Regions from separate parts of the Homo sapiens genome. Here region 2 is linked to region 1. Evidence: promoter capture Hi-C in human tissues and cell types (Jung and others, 2019). All regions are on one chromosome and are shown on one strand. Each heading gives the region's core, a stretch centred on a gene start or on the middle of the fragment in contact. The rest is flanking DNA. Distances are from core to core; before and after follow the strand shown.

Region 1 (3,314 bases), core at 356-2,855:
AGAGTAACCTGGTATTCCAGTGTTTCCCAAACAGTGTTCCCTGGAACCCTGTCCCATAGGTTGGCAATAGGAGAAGTGAGAGAAGAGGATTCTGTGTCAAGAAAAGTTGGCAAACATTGGGTTTAGTAAAGTTAAATAGGGTTCTTTTGCTCAACCGTGCTAATAAACTCACTAATAAATTCACCAAAAGAGGTATGAAATATGTGGCATTGCCCAAACTCATTTGCCCACAGAAGCCCTTTTCCTCCTGACATAACATTTATCATCTTGTGGAACAGCCTTGTCAAGACATCAAGTGGGAAATGCTGCTCCTGTCAGTTCTGCTGGTGAATTTGGCCTGATGAACTCACAGAATCAGATTCACCTCCGCGTAAGGACTGTGACTGCTAGGCAGAGTAAGGGGTCCCCACTTCCTCACCCGCGAGTCCTCTGCCTGATTCCTGGAGATGGGGGTGTGTCCATTAAGACCCATGCACTGTGGTTTCAACCAACTGTGCACCCTGGGACCCCAAGGAACCTGTCTGCCTAGCCACTAAAGGGCTCATGATGGCCTTCCCATGCTGGTCCAGGCTGAAGCTCACCAGGCTCTCTGGAGCCTCTGCATGATCAACTGCAAAGCAGAGTAGTGATAACAGCCAATATCCATGAAGCATTCATGCCGTGCCAGGCACCGCTCTAAGTTCTTTGTATGAATCAGTACATTATTCCTTCACAGCAACCTTAGGAAAGGGCATATTTTTTATTCCCAATTTACAGATGAGGAAAGAGGAACACAGAGGGATTAATTAACTTGCTCAACGTCACACAGCTAATAAGTGGCAGAGCTAGGATTTGAACCCAGGCAGGCTGGCTCTAGAGCCCACCCTCCGGGAACTGCCCAGCCTTAGGCCTCAGACCCTTTCCTCAAGTTTCAATGAGCTGCCTGCCTGTTTGTGTGCAGACGGATTCTGTCCTTCCCCTTGTGTGTGGATCCTGGATGAGGGTGGCTGGGGGAACCTTTGCCCACCACCCTGTCTCCACACCACCTGCGCCACTTGGACGGGGGATGGGTGGAGGTGGGGGCCGGGGTTGGGGGGAGCTCTGTTTTGAATCACCATCTTGCATGCTCAGTCCTGTCTAAGGTAGGACTCCTGCAGCTTCTCAGGGAACACCCAGGAAGGCCCCGCCCTTAGCCCCAGGGGCTCTCACCCAGCCCATCCCTACTTGGGGAGGAGTGGGGCAGGGCTTTGCAGGCCCAGGCAGAGCTACCCTGCCTGCTGAGCTTCCGGCCTGGCCCCTGCTCCTACCTTTGCCCGGCTGGGGAGACCTGAAAGAACCCAGAGCCCCTTATTCCTCCACCATCAGGACCCAGGGTGGCAGATGTGTCCAGGCCACATCCCACCACTCCCCAGCAGAGAAGTGTCCTCCTGCCACGTATGCCAAGGGGCAGGGCACATGCGGACACAGATGCCCTTACCTGAGTGACTACTCCTCAGGGCTCTCCTGGCTCCCAGCAGCCGGCAATAGGACTCAGCAAGCAGCTTGAATTTCATATCCAGAAGCGGGGAAGGTTTTCGGGGAAGCCCGTTGAAGCCTGTTTCCAGGACAGAGCCTGCCGGGTGTGCTGGCCCAGCCTGGGAGGAGGAGGAGCTGGGACCTGCACTGCCATTGGCTGGGCCCCAGCCTCCCCAGACTGCTTCTGATGAGGCTCAGGAAACTGAGGGGTTCACTCCTCCCAGGGCGCTGAGCCTCGAATCCTGGTATCCTCTCAGGGGAGAGCCACAGGTCCACTCTGACTCCTTGTTCATCCTCCCATCTGTGGGCTTGTGTGGGAGAAGCTGAGGCCTGAATCCCAGCTCTGCCACTTTCTCACTGTGTGATTTCTTGCCTTCTCTGTGAAAGTGGGAAAAGAACAACACCTACCTCATAGGGTGGATACGTGGATTAACCCAGCCTTAGGGGTGAAGTGCTTAGAACAGTGCCTGACACAAGGGAAGCCCTGTCTACAATTGCCTATAATGCGTGTATACTGCCCAGCACAGGCCTGCCGCATGGTATGTCCTCAAAAAAATGTTTCTTCCTCCTCCTTTTCCTTATTCCTAGGCCTTTTCTTTCTGAGATACAGGGAAGGCAGAGGAGAAGGGAGGGAGAGAGAGACGTATGCACTAGAGAAAATCTCATTTGGATGCATGTTGTCTTTGGGTTAAAAAGGCCAAACCCAAGCCAGGCAGGAACCACAGGAGAGGTGGAGAAGGTGGGCAGGGGCACCTGGGGAAAGCTTCTCATTAGTGCACAGACACGGTCTTTTGGCCTAATTGACTTCCAAGGTGCCCTGTATCAGCAGGTCACTTGGGGTCAGGATTCAACAGACAAAGCATCCAGGAGCCACAAACACCTCATGTCCACAAGCAAACACAATGTAGCTTCACATGAGCATACTCTTACACACAGGCCACAATTATGGGCACAGTGTTGCACACACATGCAGCAGTGGCTTTATTTTATTCACTGCTCTATCCCTTGTGCCTAGTATGGTGCCTGGTGTCTTGTCCAGTTAGGCTTCAATTTATATTTATTGAATGAATGATGTGTGAAATGCACACACCCTGCAGAGAGTCACACATTTCTATACTCCATGCTCTTTCCAAAAAGCTGTTGCCAAGTACAGGAGAGAGGAGGCATATAAAGAGATCAGTTACAACATTGTGAGAAGTCCTAGAAAAGACACAGAGAGAGAAGGGAGTTTTAAGTTCTGCCAGAGGGAGAGCCGGAGAAGGTAACATTTAAGCTGGGTCTTGAAGGATGTATAGGAGTTTACCAAGAAGAGATGCTGAGGAGGGGCCTTTGAGGCAGTGGGCACATAGCGTGCAGAGGACCTTTGTGAAAAATAATGGAAGAGCATTGGAGAGTGGGCTGGGTAGTGGTGGGGACACCACATGGCAAGGAGCCTGGAAGGTCAGCAAAGACCTTCCAGACCATGAAGGACCTGGAATGTCATGCTAAGGAGTTTGAATTTATCTTGGGTGCAGAGGGAGGCATGAGGGAATTCTTTTCTTTTTTCTATTTTTACATTTTGTATTGTGCTGAGGCAGGAAAAAGGAAGAGACATGGTCAGATTGGTACATTTGATTCTCATTATTCAAGGTAGTTATAGTCTATGAGTCACCATGAGCACCAAGTTAGTGAATATTGAAGCATTCTTCCTAGAGGACATATGAGGTTAGGTTCCTGCAAGCTTCTGTTTACAATGTGGTTATCAACTGATCAATACAGAAGTCTGTTTTATGTGTGTTTCTGAAGACACCTTGTTTAATATATATTGTTGACTCATTAAT
Region 2 (3,160 bases), core at 240-2,739, 640 kb after region 1:
CTAAGTTCCTTAGGCTTTATTCACTTTTGTTCATTCTTTTTTCTATTTGTTCCTCTGACTTAATAATTTCAAATGACCTGTTTTTGAGTTCACTGATTCTTTTTTCTGCTTAAGTCTGTTATTGAACCCCTCCAGTAAAATTTTAAATTCAGTTATTATAGTCTTCAGCTCTAGAATTTCTGTTTGATCTTGTATTATAGTTTCTAACTTTTTGTTGATATTGTCATTTTGTTCATGCATCATTTTCCTGATTTTATTTAGTTTGTCTATTTGTGTCCTCTTGTAGCACATTGAGCTTCTTAAAGACAATGATTTTGAATTCTTTGTCAAATAATTAATAGATCTCCATTTCTTTAGAATTGGTTTCTGAAGATTTATTATGTACACCACCCTTCCTTTTTTTTTGAGACAGGGTCTCATCCTGTTTCCCAGGCTGGAATGGAGTGGTGTGATAATAGCTCATTGTAACCTCAACTTCTGGGCCTAAGTGATCCTCCTGCTTCAGCCTCCTGAGTAGCTAGGACTATAGGTGTACCACTATGCCCAGCTAATTAAAAAAAATTGTTTTTAGAGATGGGGGTCTTGCTATCTTGCCCAGGTTGGTCTGGAACACCTGGCCTCAAATTATCCTTCTGCTTCGGCCTCCCAAAGCACTGGGATGACAGGTATGAACCACTGTGCTCAGCCTATTTTCTTCCTTTAGTTGAGCCATGTTGCCTTGTTTTTCGTTTTTTTTTTTTAAGTGTGCTTTGTTATTTTTTTAGTGATTTCTGCATTTGAAAAACAACAACAACAACAACAACAACAAAGGAGTTCTCCCAGTCTTTACAGAGTAGTTTTACACAAGGGAAAGTCTTCAGCAGCTAGAGGTTCTGGGGGCTTTCCTTGGGATATATATTCTCTGAGCTTGCATGTGTACTTTCTTAATTAAAGAGGTTTACTGGGTCTTGTTTGTTTTTCCTTCAAGGGTTTGTAATTTCTTGCTCCCTCTGGTGTCTGATTATGGTACTCAGGTTCTCTGGTGTTGCAAAAAGCCAGTGAACTGTCTTTTGTTCTCCATGGCCCCCAGGCATTGAAAGTATGCTGGTTCCCCATCAGCACTCTGGTTTCTGTCAGGTGAGACAGAAACCGGTCCCTCTGCAGCCCACTGAAAAGTGGGAACACTGAATGTATGCTATGCTCTTCTCTTTCCTTTCCAAGGGGGAAGCTGCAAGTTGAACTTTTTCCTTCAGTCTCACTGAACTGTGACAGTTGGGAGAAGGGTTTTTATGGTTGACATGAAACAATTTTTCTTATGCATTTCAATATGGTGGCTTTTCACTTTGAGCTTGCCTGGGGTACTGTAACTTCTTAACTGGTTTCTAGAGTTCTCATAAAGGCTTTTTTGGACTGTGTATTGTTGTTAAGTCAGTGTTTCTGTGGGGCAGAATGTCTGGGGCTTCCTATTCTGCCATCTAGCTGATGTCACTCCCAAGCCCCTGGCACCTCCTCCAGGCACCTTTCCCCCACTGCCCCTCAGCAGAAGCCACAGGACTGTAAGGGCCATGAGGGGGCGCCAGGGATTTACAATTATAAAGGTCTTGTTGGGCCATAATAAAGTCTCTCCCAGCTAACAAGTGACCATGGGGCATGTGATGGTCTTGCTTTGTTCACCCATGTGCGTCTTGCATATTATTCATGCTATGGATGAACATGTGCTCCTAGCCATTTCAAGGTTAGACATGTTTTGAGAGGATGTTGCATCTGTGACAACTGTCAGGAGTCACAGGTCCTGGGTCGCTGCTCTGCCACCCATGTGTGACACCTCTGGCTCTCTCAACTCATGCGTTTTAAGACCCACACTTTCTCTTGGAGGGCATGGGGAGATAAATACCTCTTGATCCTAAGAATTCAGTTGGGAAGTGTCACAAGGAGGGTATGAGGAAGCTCAGAGACACAACCATTTCCAAACCCAAGTTAAGAAGTCTGAGCCATGAGTGACTCAGCCAGGAGTAGAGCTTAGCTCACAATGGTGGGGTTGAAGCTGGGTCCTACCTTCCCATCCATGTCCTTCTTTTTCTCCTTTCTCCCGTCCAAGTACTAACAAGGCCTGAACCTGCTTAGCTTCCGAGATCAGACAAGATCAGGCACGTTCAGGGTGGTATGGCCGTAGATCTCTTTTTCTCCTTTCTATAAATTCCTTGCTTTCCTATATTACACACCCACACACCAGCTGCCCCTCAGCCATGAGCATTGTCAGGGAAGGGTCAGACTGTCTTTTAGGAGGCCCTAGTAAAAATCCATTGAATTGGCTTGAATCCTTTTCTTTCTATATCCCCATGCTACTCCCAAGCCTGTGAATTTCTTGCCAGAAATCTCTAGCATTGGACTAACTAGATTCTAGAGGCCTATATAGATTTTACTCTTTATAGATTATCTTATTGGAAGGCACATTCATTCATTCATTCAACATATACTTTTGATTTTTCTCAAGGCTGCCCATATGACCCAGAAATTCATGCCCCAGTCTCTGGCATGGTGACAAAGCATAGTATGCCCACAGGAGAAGAAGGCTAGTATTGGAAGTATTTCTGGAGGCTTTGAAGGGTCTCCAGGACATTCATTCACATAACTCTGCAGAGCAGTCCACTGGGAAACCCTTTGAGTTACCTCATGGCTGGAGTGCCTATAGATAGAGCTGTCTGCTGCAGTGTGGAGGCGGTTGGACAGCAGGTAGTTATATAGGCTGGGGCTGCAGCTGACAAGACTGGGGAAGCCCAGGGTGAGCAAAGGCCATTAAGGGCAGAACTGGGCATCTGGGGAAATGGCCATGGCAATGTCTTCTAAACAGAAGTCTGAGGTCACTGGGCTGGGTTCTGAACCCAGTGTCTCCACATGCCCAGCCTGATCATGTTTTTCACCTTGGTTTGCATGTGTATGGGCAAGGGGCAACAATAAGCTTGTTAGGGTTTCCTTTTATAGAGACTGTAAGAGGAAGTACATTTCTCTACTACTCCCTGACACAATTTTTAGATTATCTGTCCACCCACTCAGATATATTTTTCCCTCAGTTCATTCAAACTGCGAGAGAGAAAGAGAGAGAAAGAGAGAGAGAGAGAGAGAGAGAGAGAGAGAGAGAGAATTTGAAAGAATTTATTGAAATAAGGTTCCTTTCAGCCAA

What was found. Contacts are between HindIII fragments. The study calls those that stand out against the background at their distance.
Region 2: a fragment that was not itself captured here is called in contact with the fragment with the promoter of GJB5 in region 1 in 1 of the 25 tissues and cell types used here (bladder).

Annotation. Positions count from the first base shown.
Region 1 is chr1:34,753,338-34,756,651 of GRCh38, reverse strand. It overlaps GJB5 (gap junction protein beta 5), which reads right to left and starts at 1,605. Exons shown (of 2, transcript NM_005268.4): 1 at 1,457-1,605. The HindIII fragment of the contact is 2,696 bases long and covers 41-2,736 here.
Region 2 is chr1:34,111,943-34,115,102 of GRCh38, reverse strand. The region is part of intron 1 of CSMD2 (CUB and Sushi multiple domains 2); the gene reads left to right. It also overlaps the pseudogene RNA5SP42. Among named protein-coding and RNA genes, the nearest start is that of CSMD2, 52 kb to the left of the region's middle. The HindIII fragment of the contact is 3,201 bases long and covers 1-3,089 here.